2 separate regions of the Homo sapiens genome follow, and region 2 is linked to region 1. Evidence: promoter capture Hi-C in human tissues and cell types (Jung and others, 2019). All regions are on one chromosome and are shown on one strand. Each heading gives the region's core, a stretch centred on a gene start or on the middle of the fragment in contact. The rest is flanking DNA. Distances are from core to core; before and after follow the strand shown. Region 1 holds the start of TEX261 (testis expressed 261). Region 2 has its middle 36 kb from the start of TEX261.

Region 1 (6,292 bases), core at 59-2,558:
ACACTGTTGTGATGCCATCAGCACCATCCATCTTCCCAAACTGAAACCCTGTATCCATTAAAAAGTAACTCCCCATTCTTTGTCCCCCAGACCCTGGCAAGCACCATTTAACTTTCTGCCCATGATTTTGACTACTCTGGGTACCTCATATGAGGGGAATCATACAATGTGTGTCCTTCCCTATTTGGCTTATTTCACTTAGCATCATGCCTTCAAGGTTCATTGATGTTGTAGCATGTGTCAGAATTTCACTTCATTTTAAGGCTAGATAATATTCCATTGTATGTTTATAGCACTTTATGTCTATCTTTTCGTCAACCGATGGACATTTGGGTTGCTTCCCTCTTCTGACCATTGTGAATAATGCTATGAATATTGGTATACAAATGTCTCTGCTTTCTCAGTTCTTTTGGGTATATACCCAGAAGTAGAATTGCTAAATCATACGGTAATTGTTTTTTTTAGGAATACGTATTTTTATGCAGGAAAAATATGATTCTGAAATAAGCCTACTAGACTCTTGTTCTACATACTTTATTTTGCATGCCTGTCTCCGCCACTAGATGGGAGACTTGTTGACAAGGACTAACCGGTTCCAGGTGCCCCTCAGGAACCCTCCCAGAGGTGTAGTAAATGCATCCAGCGCCTAGCGGACGCCCTGCGTGCCCGGCAAGGGGTGAGGTGCAGGCGATACAAAGGTGCAGAATGTACCCCAAAAGAACAGCCTAGAGGGGAATTAGGCCGGAGGATGACCGATTAAAATCACCCCAACTCCTGATTGTGCCGCTTCCTAGGTGCATGACCCAGGGCAACTTCCTTTGGCCCCGGCTTCCCCGTCTATAAAATGATTTACATTATCTGCTCAAATTTCCGACAAGAACACACCTCGCCTTTATCACAGAGCGTGGCACATATTAGGAATTCAATAATTTTGTCCCTATCACCTGCGATAGCAAGAGACAGACTTGTCCGCAACCTGCCGGGAGGCAGGTTCTGGGGAGGTTGCTGGGGCGCGGTCGGGCGGCCCTGTCCGGCCCTGGACCACCTCCAGGCTGGTACGGGAGTGCACAGGGAGGGACTGGAGGCTGCACTCCGAGCCCCAGTATGGGCGCTTGGTCGTCTCCGCCCCTGGGCACCGTCCCGCCTCCCTCTGGCTGCAGCGGTCTGCATTCATTCCCCTCAGTGGAGCGGGGGATCCTGGCGGGGCAGCGGCGGTTGGCCCTCCTCTCCGGCGGGCGGCGCTAGCGCGAGCCTGGCCCCGGGCAGCGCTAGGGCCGGGCTCCTCTCGGCGGCGGCGCACCGTCGTCCTGTCGTCCGCGGGGCGGGGACGCGGCGGCGGCGGCGGCGGTGGCGGCTGTGTGTCGCCGGAGCCGAAGCGCGCAGGCCCGTCCCGGTGGCCGGGGAGCGGGCGGGTGGGGGCGCCATGTGGTTCATGTACCTGCTGAGCTGGCTGTCGCTCTTCATCCAGGTGGCCTTCATCACGCTGGCTGTCGGTGAGACTGCACGACCCCGGCCCGCGCGGGCTCCCGCCCCGGCATCGGTGCTCGTTGGGGGTCGCATCGCGGGGGTTTCGGAGCCACTCGGGGGACCACTGCCCGGCGCTCCCGGCCTTCGCCGCCCCAACCCCTTCCCGCCTGATCCTGCCCCTCCTGTCGAGCCTGGCAGCCCGGCCTGACCGTGGCTCCTTCCAGGTGTCACAGAGTCCGCTCCGGCACTGCCCGAGAAAGGGTGACTCGAGTGCCGCCCCCGCGTCTGCGGACCGCTAACCGCTGCGGCTCCCACTCTTCGCGGGCCTGCCGCGCGGAACTTTTCCCCAACGCCTACCGCCGCCTTTGCGCCTCTGGCCCTTCATGCTCCCTGCTCTCTCCACCTTTGACACTTCTCCTCTGGCTGGTTCCCATTCGGCCTCAGTTGAGATGTCATCTTTTCCGGGAAGTCCACAGGGGTTGATGGTCCAGCAGTGCCCTGTCCTTTCCCTAAAGTAGCATTTCTCACACTAAACTCGTCTGTCTCTCCCTACTGTTCCCCTTCCCTTTCCCAAGCTGGGTCAGGGAAGGACCCTTGTCTGTCTTTTTCAGCTGTATTCTCAGCCCAGGGACCTGGCTCATGCCAAGTGCCCAGCAGGTGTTTATTGAATACGTGAAATTCCGTTTTCTGAGCCAGAGGTTATCATTGTACTGTGGCATCAAATGCAGACTTTCGTTGATTTTTATGAGATTTGTCCTTAGTTGCCCTAAGAAAGTTTTACTTCTCCAGACTTGGAAGGGCAACACATGGGATGTTTGGTTTGTTCTTGACCTTCTGGGGTCCATGAAGGGTGGATGGGGACTGGGCTGCAGAGAGAGGGGTGACCAGGATGGTGGGAGTGACCCTGGCTGATAGTCTCCCTGCCTCCCACCCTGCAGCGGCTGGACTCTATTACCTGGCAGAACTGATAGAAGAATACACAGTGGCCACCAGCAGGATCATAAAATACATGATCTGGGTAAGTGGCATCTTTCTCCAGGAGTCCTCCTCACTCTTTTGCCCTGCCTCAAAAGCAGGAAGTGGGGAGAGTTTGGCATGGATGATGAGGCCTGTGTCTCTGCTGTTTCCTGAGCATACACTCTTACCTCCTTGCCCTGAACGCTGTCTTTTGGGTCTGCACTCCTGGGCCCAGATCTTCCCTGGCCGCCTTCCCCAAGTGGCATTGTTTCACTGCAGGCCTTGTGCTCTAGTCCTTAAGGTGACAGCGAAGTGTACTTCTCTGTTGACAAGACCGTAGATTTGACTTTGCTTAGCTCTCTCCCGCTGTCTTTAGCCCTTTGCTCTGCTCACAGCATTTAAAACTTAGAGGAGCCATAAGACAGTTTTGCATATATGTTCATTGCCATCTTTCTAATCGGATCAAGTGATTTGTCCTAAGATCGGCACAGCTTCGCTGCCCTCGCCCTTCCCTGGTCTCATGGGAGGCTTCTCTTACTGAAGACACAGTCCTTGCCACTGATATCAAAGCCATAGGGGTGACTGCTGGTGGACAGACTTCCTTCAGCTGCAGGAAAGGCTGGGGGTAGGGGTGCCATTGGAGAGAAAGCGTCCACAGCCCCTCAAGTCGCCTGGTGTCAGCAGCCATGTGCACTCTGGGCATGGCTGAGGTTGGGAGTTCACAGTGGAGGCAAGACTATAGCCCTCAGCTCTGGTCCAGAGGCCCAGCTTGTGGGTGTTGGCACAGTAATTAGCCCTTCATTCAGCCAACTGTCATTTGCTAAGCACTGACAACTGTAGGTACTTATCAGTAGTGTTTTTCAAACTGTAGGCATGATTCATTATTTGGCTGTATAGTAGGTCACAATCAGCATTTTTTAAAAAAAGGAACATAAATAGAATTGAAATTTGAGCTTTGAATCATATATATGTATATATGTGTTGGGGTCACAGTGTAAAATGTTTTTCTTTTTCTTTTTTTTTTTTTGAGATGGAGTTTCGCTCTTATTACCCAGGCTGGAGTGCAGTGGCACAATCTCAGCTCACCGCAACCTCTGCCTCCTGGGTTCAAGCGATTCTCCTGCCTCAGCCTCCCGAGTAGCTGGGATTATAGGCATGTGCCACCATGCCTGGCTAATTTTGTATTTTTAGTAGAGATGGGGTTTCTCCATGTTGGTCAGGCTGGTCACAAACTCCCAACCTCAGGTGATCTGCCTGCCTTGGCCTCCCAAAGTGTTGGGATTCCAGGCGTGAGCCACCTCGCCTGGCAGATGTTTTTCTTACTGTGGGTTGCTGTCAAAAAGTTTGAGAAATGGGCTGGGTGCGGTGGCTCACACCTGTAATCCCAGCACTTTGGGAGGCCATCAGAAGTTTGAGACCAGCCTGGCCAACATGGCAAAACCCTGTCTCTACTAAAGACACAAAAATTAGCTGGGCGTGGTTGTGCATGCCTGTAGTCCCAACTACTCAGGAGGCTGAGGCAAGAGAATTGCTTGAATCCAGGAGATCGCGCCACTGCACTCCAGCCTGGATGACAGAGTGAGACTCCGTCTCAAAAAAAAAAAAAAAAATGTTGCCTTTTGGGAGCAGAGAACCTAGCTGGGGAGGCCAGACCTGTGAAATGAGGAGATTGAAGCATGAACCTAGTGCTGCCCAGAGCGGGCTGGGGGTTGGTGAGTCCAGGAACGTTGCCTGGAAGAAGCGCCCTGCACTGTCTGCCTCTGGTTGTTTCAGTTCTCCACCGCTGTACTGATTGGCCTCTACGTCTTTGAGCGCTTCCCCACCAGCATGATTGGAGTGGGCCTATTCACCAACCTCGTCTACTTTGGCCTCCTCCAGACCTTCCCCTTCATCATGCTGACCTCGCCTAACTTCATCCTGTCGTGTGGTGAGAGGGGACAGAGTTGGGGAGGCAGCTGATGTGGTTGGGTGTGCCCATCTCCATCCTGGGCACTAAAGGGGATACAGAAAAAGGAAGCCAGCTGTTGAAGTCCTCCAGGAAGCCAGGCTAGTTGGGAAGATGCGGTTCTTACTGCTGAGGACTCTAGAGCCCACCTTGGCTCTAGTGAATAGAATTTGTTGGGGCTGGGGACTCAGACAGGGAGGGCTTTCCCAGAGAGGTAAGTTTGAAGGAGAGTTTGGGAAAGAAGAGGTTGTGGATTGGCTGAGGCAGGGCCCCCAACTGAGCAGTTCCAGCCTCAAAAAAACCACTTGGCCAGAAAAAGCCCAAAGCCCTTCCGGTAGGCAGGCAGCTGTCCGTCCAGTCCTCTGACCCAAAGTCATTGTTAGGACTGGAGCCTCATGGGGCTGTGAGCACCTTGCAGACTCTGGCCTGGTGTGAATGCCTCCTGGGGGCTGCAGCTTCTCATCTCATTCTCACTGGCTGCCGCTGCCTCGGGCTTGAGCCTGGATGTGGAGGACCCAGTCTTCTTGGCGTTGCCCTGCCACCACTTTCTGACCCTGGGGAATCATTGGCCCTCTCTGGGCCTTAGCTTCTCCATCTATTCAGAGAGGATGTTTCTGAAAGAACTATTGGGAGACTCAGTGGGCATATAGTAGGTGCATATAGGTATTTACAGATATTCCTGGAAAAGGCTTCGGAAAGTATTTTGGTTGCCAAGATTGCCATTGCTCCTGTTCATCATTGCTGGCTACCCTAGCTTTCAGTCAGGGTATCAGATGGAGTTAGGGGTTTTTTAGAGTGACTTTTCTATTTCTATGAGAGAGCCTGGAGGGTGAATATTATCCACACAAAGGGCATATTGTTAAAGCCAAAACTGGTTTCTTCCTTGGGTGTGATTTCACCAAAGAATTTGTTCAGCAGAGGTTTGTTAGGGAGCCCTTCCATGGAGACCAGGCCCCTCTGTCCAGGGAAGAAGTCCTGCCCCCAGCCCCTCAGCAGCAGGCTCCCCTGACTTCACTCCCTTGATCTGCCCTTTAATGCCTAAAAGAGTTTTTCCAAAAGATCTTGTGGGCACCAGGCACTATCCTACCTCCCATTATCTCTTAGCCCTAGAGTGTGGCTAGGCATAGCAGAACTGTAGTCTTTGCCTTAGAATGGGAGAGGCAGGAGAGAAGAAAGGAGACATGAGAATTGCTGTGAGGTGTGTGTGAGGGGACAGTCAGTTTCAGGGGACATGTTCTTTCTGGTGCCTGCCCTTCACCTCACCATGGGAACCGGCAGGGATGACTGTCTCTTGAGCAGCCTGTGTCCAGGATATGCACACGTGCCCTCTTTTATAAACTCAGTTACACACCAAGGAGGGGTGGCTGTGTGTGTGTGTGTGTCCAGAACGTATCAGTTCACACCGGTATGCCTTACCTGGGGGCAGGATGAGGAGGGACCCCCTCCCCCAGAATGTTGAGGAACCTGAAGACTGCACCTCAAAGCATCTAGCAAGTCTTGCCCTTTTATTCCTGAGGAGTGAGAGCCTTTTTATTTGAGCAGGCCTTCTCCTTGCTGCCCAGTTTGTTTATTTGAGCAGGCCTTCTCCTTGCTGCGAGTTTGGAGTAGAGCCTCTTAGGGGCGTCTGGTCTGCACACCCATGATTTCTCCCCACCTGTCACTGTGGGAGAGCTTTCTTTAGCCCTCACATCCACGAAAAACGAGGTTCATCGTCATGATGCTTTGGATTATGTAACATAGAAGTCTCACTTTTATAACATGCAAAGAGCCTTCTTCTAATTTTACTCAGAATGCCCTGTGCAGTGGGCAGGTTGAGGCTCATTCTCCCATTTTAGCAGATGGGAAACGGTTCTAGGCAGTAGCCTACTCTGAGTTGAGTGTAAAGTCAGGCCTAAGACTCCATGGAGGCTCCCAACTTCTGAG
Region 2 (6,468 bases), core at 2,967-5,466, 35 kb before region 1:
TCCTTTTGGGATTTATTTATTTCACTGACGAGAATGTCTTCAAGGTTCATCCGTGTTGCACCCTGTGTCAGAAGTGCCTGTCTGGTTGTTTGAGTGTTTTGTTTTGATTTTTTTGTTTTGTTTTGTTTTGTTTTGTGTTCACATGGAGTCTCACTCTGTCGCACAGGCTGGAGTGCAGTGGCACAATCTGGGCTCACTGTAACCTCCACCTCCCGGGTTCAAGCGATTCTTGTGCCTCCGCCTCCCGAGTAGCTGGGACTATAGGCACACGCCACCACGCTCTTCTAATTTTTTGCATTTTCAGTAGAGACAGGGTTTTACAAGATGGCCAGGCTGGTCTTGAATTCCTGACCTCAGGTGATCCGCCCACCTCGGTCTTCCAAGATGCTGGGATTACAGGCGTGAGCCACCGCACCGGCCGGAAGTGCCTGCCTTTTTAAGGCTGAATAGTCTTCCATCGCATGAATGAACTGCAGTGTGCTTTTTCATTCATCTGTCCACGAACCCTTGGGTTGCTTCCACGTTTTGGCTGTTGTGAATAATGCTGCCAAGAATTTGGGTGTACAAATCTCTCTTCCACTCCTGGCTTCTAATTCTTTTTGGCAGGTACCCACAAGCGCAACTGCGGGAACATCCGCTAATCCTGTTTCTACTTTTTCCGGTACACGCCATACTATTTTCCCGGTTCCATCACGGTTTTACATTCCCTCCAATCAGATTCGAGCATTCCTACTTCCCTCTAGTTTCACCAATGCTTGTTTGTTTATCATATCCATCCAAATGTGTGGTATCACATTCTTGGTTTGATTTGCGCTTCCCTATGATTAGTGATTTTGAACATCATTTTAGATGCTTATTGGCCATCGCTATATCTTCTTTAGGGACACGTCTACTCGAGTCTTCTGACCATTGTGAATGGGATGCTTTGGGTTTCTTGTTGTTCAGTTCTAGCTGTTCTTTGTACATGATGCATATCAGCCTCTTTTCAGAGATATGATTTGCAAATATTTTTCCTAATCCATGGGTTATCTTTTCACTCAGTTCACAGTGTTTGCTGATGCACAAAAGTGTCTGTCATTTAGATGTCATCCAAGGAATCTAATTTTCTTTTGTTGCCTATGCTTTTGGTGTCATATCCCAGAAAGCATTGCCCAATCTGATGTCATGAAAGTGTGACCAATGTTTTCTTTTAGGCATATTATACTTTCAGCACTTGGGGTTAGGTCTTTGACCCAGTTTGTGTTAATTTTTGCACCTGGTGTGACATAGAGTCCACCTTCATTCTTCTGCATGTGGAAATCAAGTTTCTCCAACACCATTTCTCGAAAAGGCTGCTTTTCCACCAATGGACTTTCTTAGCACTCATGTGAAAAATCATTTGAACATATAGGTGAGAAGTTATTTCTGGGCTCAAAAACAAACAAACAACAACAGACAACAGAGAAGGATGCAGCATGGGCCGGGTGCGGTTGCTCACGCCTGTAATCCAAGCACTTTGGGAGGCCGAGGCGGGCGGATCACCTGAGGTCAGGAGTTCAAGACCAGCCTGACAGACAGGAAGAAACCCCTGTCTCTACTACAAATACAACATTAGCTGGGTGTGCTGGGGCATGCCTGTAATCCCAGCTGCTCAGGAGATGGAGGCAGGAGAATCGCTTGAACCCAGGAGGCAGAGGTTGCGGTGAGCCAAGAATGCACCATTACACCCCAGCCTGGGCAACAAGAGTGAAACTCTGTCTCAAAACAAAAAACCAAAAACAAAAAATCCAGCATGATTTCGAGAGCAGAAAGAGAATAGCTGGAAAACCAGCATAATGAGAAAGTTAGGAAACTTCTTACCAAAGCATCTGGAAATATGCAAGAAATTCTTGTGAACTAAAATTTTCATACTGTACTATCAAACATTAGAACTCACTTATTCCATCTTTCTGTATTTGGGGACCCAATTATCCACTTCTCTTCATTTCCCATCCCACCCCTTTTCTTCCTAGCGTCTGCTAACCACCCTTATACTTTCCACCTTCCTGAGATTCCTTTTGTGTGTAGGTGTGTGATGGAGTCTCTTTCTGTTGCCCAGGTTGGAGTATACAGGCACAATCCGGGCTCACTGCAACCTCCACCTCCCAAGTTCAAGCGCTTCTTGGGCCTCAGCCCTCCGAGTAGCTGAGACTACAGGCACGCGTCACCACGCCCAGCTAATTGTTTGTGTTTTCAGTAGAGACGGGGTTTCACCATGTTGGCCAGGTGGGTCTCGAACTCCTGGCCTCAAGTGATCCGTGCGACTCGGCCTCCCACAGTGCTGGGATTACAGGCCTGAGCCACCACACCTGGCCAAGATTTTCTTTTCTGTTCCTACCTAGAAGTGATGATATGAAATATTTGTCATTCTGTGCCTAGCTTATTTCACTTAACATACAGACCTGCAATCTCATCCATTTTGTCTGCAGTGGAGAGGATTTCGTTTATTCCTTTTTAGGCTGAATAATACTTCATTGTGTGTGTATACCACAGTTTCTCAATTGAAACAAATTTCTAAAAACCAAATGTTTTTAACATGTCTCGGAATGTGAAACTTCAGGGATACTGTGCCCGTTTTATTCTTTTCTATTTCCCATCTTATGTATATGCAAGTGTATAACAAAGCAGCAATCAAAGTGTGTATAAATCTATAATTTCAACAAATGTAAAATGAAAATGCTAAGTGGTGGCTGGGCGCGGTTGCTCACGCCTGTAGTCCCAGAACATTGGGAGGCGGAAGTGGGAGGATCACCTGAGGTTGGGAGTTCAAGACCAGCCTGACCAATATGGAGAACCACTGTCTGTACTAAAAATACCAAAAAACAAAACAAAACAAAACAAACAAACAAACAAAAAAAAACTTAGCCGGGCACGGTAGCGCATGCCTGTAATCCCAGCTACTTGGAAGGCTGAGACAGGAGAATCACTTGAATACGGGAGGCAGAGGTGGCAGTGAGCCGAGATCGTGCCATTGCACTCCAACCTGGGCAACAAGAGTGAAACTCTGCCTCAAAAGGAAAAGAAAAAAAAAAAGAAAAGAAAAAGAAAAAAATAGAAAATGCTAAATGGTAAGAAACAACAGCATAATAAACATTTGTATGGTGTTGATGGACAATGCATTTCAGGATAATATTTGAAGAAATCATATTACAATTAACTTCTGTTCTTACTCATTAGAGCTTGATGCCTCTAAAAACTTTGTCATTGCAAGCACCTCTGGTGCTTTAAAAAAAAAAAAAAAAAATCCACATACTCACACAGGTGCAGGGAAATCAGAATCTCAGGTAATGAGACCCAGGCCTCATCAATTGTAAGCTCCTCAGGTGATTTGACTCAAAGCCAAACTTGAGGACCAGTGACATGGATCTCTACACATAACCTGCCCAAATAGATTCTCTAGAAGCAGTTTATAAAGAAATTCCACATGAACTCTGGAAGAGGATATGAATTTGATATACAGTATGTCCTCACTTAACATCTTTGGAAGTCTCTTGGAAACTTCACCTTTAAGCAAAATTAGGTAGAGTGAAACCAGTTATTCCTCACCAACATTATAACTACACAACTTTGAATGCACCAATGGTGTTGGAGGACCTGCTGTACATTGCTTCCATAAAGTCAATTTTCAGGGAATTCCAAAATGAAGTGAGGACTTCACGTATATAAAAAGAAGGTTGTGATTCCACCTGGATGACAGGGTTATTGCTCAGAAACTAAAGGAGGCCACCTAGGTATAGAGGATTCAGTCATGAGGTTTCTGCTAAACAAAGGATCCCAGAATCCTCACCCCTTCCAGTTAAAGGCATAACGAAGAAAACAATATTCACATAGGAAACGCGGAAAGAAATAAAAGCCATCAAGCCACAAAAATAATGTGACTAAGGGGCAGGATTTGCAGATGTAGGGATTTAATGTGCTTGCCCTTTCTTACCCACACAAGAAAAAGGATGGAACAGATCATGAGATTTGACTGTTCTGCTGCGCAGCCTCCACAGGGCGCTTTGAATGTCCCTGTTTCTCAGGCTGTAGATGAAAGGGTTCAGCATGGGGGTGACCACAGCATACGTCACTGACGCCACCACACCATTCCTGAGGGGTGGTGCCACAGCTGAAGTCAGGTACACGCCAATGCCTGTTCCATAAAATAAGCAAACAACTGGCAGGTGAGAGCCACAGGCGGAGAAGGCTTTATACTACCCATCTGACGATGAAATCCTTAGAATGGAGGGGACAATTTTATAGTAAGACAAAAGGATCCCTGAAATGGGAAGAAAACCAAACATAGTACTATCGAAATATATGAACATGCTATCGATGATGCTGTCAGAACAGGCAAGCTTGAGAGGTTGAGATGGGTCACAGACAAAATTAGAGATTTCCACATTCTTGAAGAAGGTGAATTGCAACACAATCCAACTGCGCAGCTGGGAATCCAACAGGCTAAGGAAAAGGACACCGAAACTAAGAAGACACAGAGGTGAGGATTCACGATGACTGGGTAGTGCAGAGGGCGACAGATGGCTACAAAACAGTCATAGGCCATCACAGTCAGGAGCATGTCTTCTACACATGCAAAAAGGACCAAGAAAGACATCCGTGTCAGGCAGTCCGCATAAGAGATGACTCCGCTATGCGACCGCATGTCCACAATCATCTTGGGAACCGTGGCCGAGGTGAAACCGATGTCAGCCCAGCACAGGTTGGAGAGGAAGAAGCACATTGGGGTGTGGAGGTGGGAGTCAGAGCTGACAGCCAGGCTGATGAGGAGGTTCCTCAGCACCGTGACCAGATACATGGACAGGGACAGCCCAGCGAGGATGGGCTGCAGTTCTGGATCCTCTGAGAGTCCCAGGAGGAGGAGTTCTCAGGCTCCTGTGAGATTCCGTGGCTCTGTGTGACTTGGACACCTTGGGAAGAAAAGAAGGTTGGAAAAATAAAAGATAAAAACCAGCCCTTAATGCTGTGTGTATATTTTGGATGCAAGCAATTCACAAGGAACATTTTCACACTTGAGGACCATACACCGTCAGCAATATTTCTCAGTTGTGACAAACCCAAAAATCCCAGAATTATTCCATGATGATTTACTGTTTTCTATTCAACTCCTTCTGTATGTACTACTTTAGAGAAAATCCACTGAAGAATGTTAGAAGACCAAAACATAATATATAACAAATCCGTGATCTCAGTAAAATACGGCCTACTCTTTTCAGAAAGAATAAAACGCAATGAAGATGCTCTTCTGTCTTTAAGAAAAAGATGTCAGCCTAATTGAAAGAAATTAAGAAGCAGTGAAATACACTCTGTTTTATTCTGACACCGTGCGACAAATTCCTTTGATGTAGAATATGGAAAAGGATGATACAAGAGCTAGGACCGCATTATCTAAAAATGAAATCGAAGCTTAGAGTTCTTTATCTGAAGACCTTTTAACATGCCAGTTACTTTTCATATTTATTATCATCCTTAGGTTTTCTGACATCATTTCTTCATAAAAGTACATGCACACTCAAATATGGGAGCTGTGTTTCCAAATTAATTGAATATATAACTCTTGGCCGAGCGCCATGGCTCACACCTGTAATCCCAGCACTTTGGGTGGCCGAGGCCGACGGATCACCTGAGGTCAGGAGTTCCAGACCAGCTTGGCCAACGCGGTGAAACCCCATCTCTAGTGAAAATAAAAAACAATTAGCCGGGCCTGGTGGCGGGTAACTCTAGCTACTCGGGAGGCTGAAGCAGGAGAATCCCTTAGAACCTGGAAGGCAGAGATTGTACACCCTGTGATATTATTTTGGATATCCTAGGGGGATATTGCTCCTGACATCAGAGTGGGCGTACACCCTGTGATATTGTCTGTGATATCCTAGAAAGATGTTGCTCCTAATATCACAGTGGCTGCACACCCTGGGGTATTAATTGTAATATCCTACAGAGATATCACTCCTAATAATACAGTGGGTGTACACCCTGTGATATTATTCATAATATATTATGGAGATACGACTCCTGATATCACAGTGAGTGTACACCCTGTTTGTACGCCCTGTGATATTATTTGTAACAACTTAGAAAAATATTACAGCTAATATCAAAGTGGGTGTACACCCTGTGATGTTCTATGTTATCTACTCGGTAGATATTACTCCTAAGATCACAGTGAGTGTACACCATGTGTGTACACACTGTGAAATTATTCGTAATAACCTAGGAAGATATTACTCCTGATATCACAGTGGGTGTACACCCTGTGATATTATTTGTAATCACCTAGGGAGATACGACTCCTAATATTCCAGTGGGTGTACACTCTGCGATGTTCTTTGTAATGTCCTAGGAAGATATTACTCCTAATATCAAAGTGGATGTACACCATGTGTGTACACTCTGTGATATAATTCGTAATATCCCAGAGAGATATTTCTCCTAATATCACAGTGGGTGTACACT

What was found. Contacts are between HindIII fragments. The study calls those that stand out against the background at their distance.
Region 2: a contact is called between a fragment that was not itself captured here and the fragment with the promoter of TEX261 in region 1, in 3 of the 25 tissues and cell types used here (adrenal gland, psoas muscle and stomach).

The regions. Positions count from the first base shown.
Region 1 is chr2:70,989,889-70,996,180 of GRCh38, reverse strand. It overlaps TEX261 (testis expressed 261), which reads left to right and starts at 1,308. Exons shown (of 6, transcript NM_144582.3): 1 at 1,308-1,493; 2 at 2,406-2,485; 3 at 4,198-4,351. The coding sequence starts at 1,424. RefSeq lists an enhancer at 497-546 and silencers at 1,087-1,616, 1,647-1,736. The HindIII fragment of the contact is 31,120 bases long and covers 1-6,292 here.
Region 2 is chr2:71,027,373-71,033,840 of GRCh38, reverse strand. It overlaps the pseudogene OR7E91P. Among named protein-coding and RNA genes, the nearest start is that of TEX261, 36 kb to the right of the region's middle. The HindIII fragment of the contact is 6,692 bases long and covers 871-6,468 here.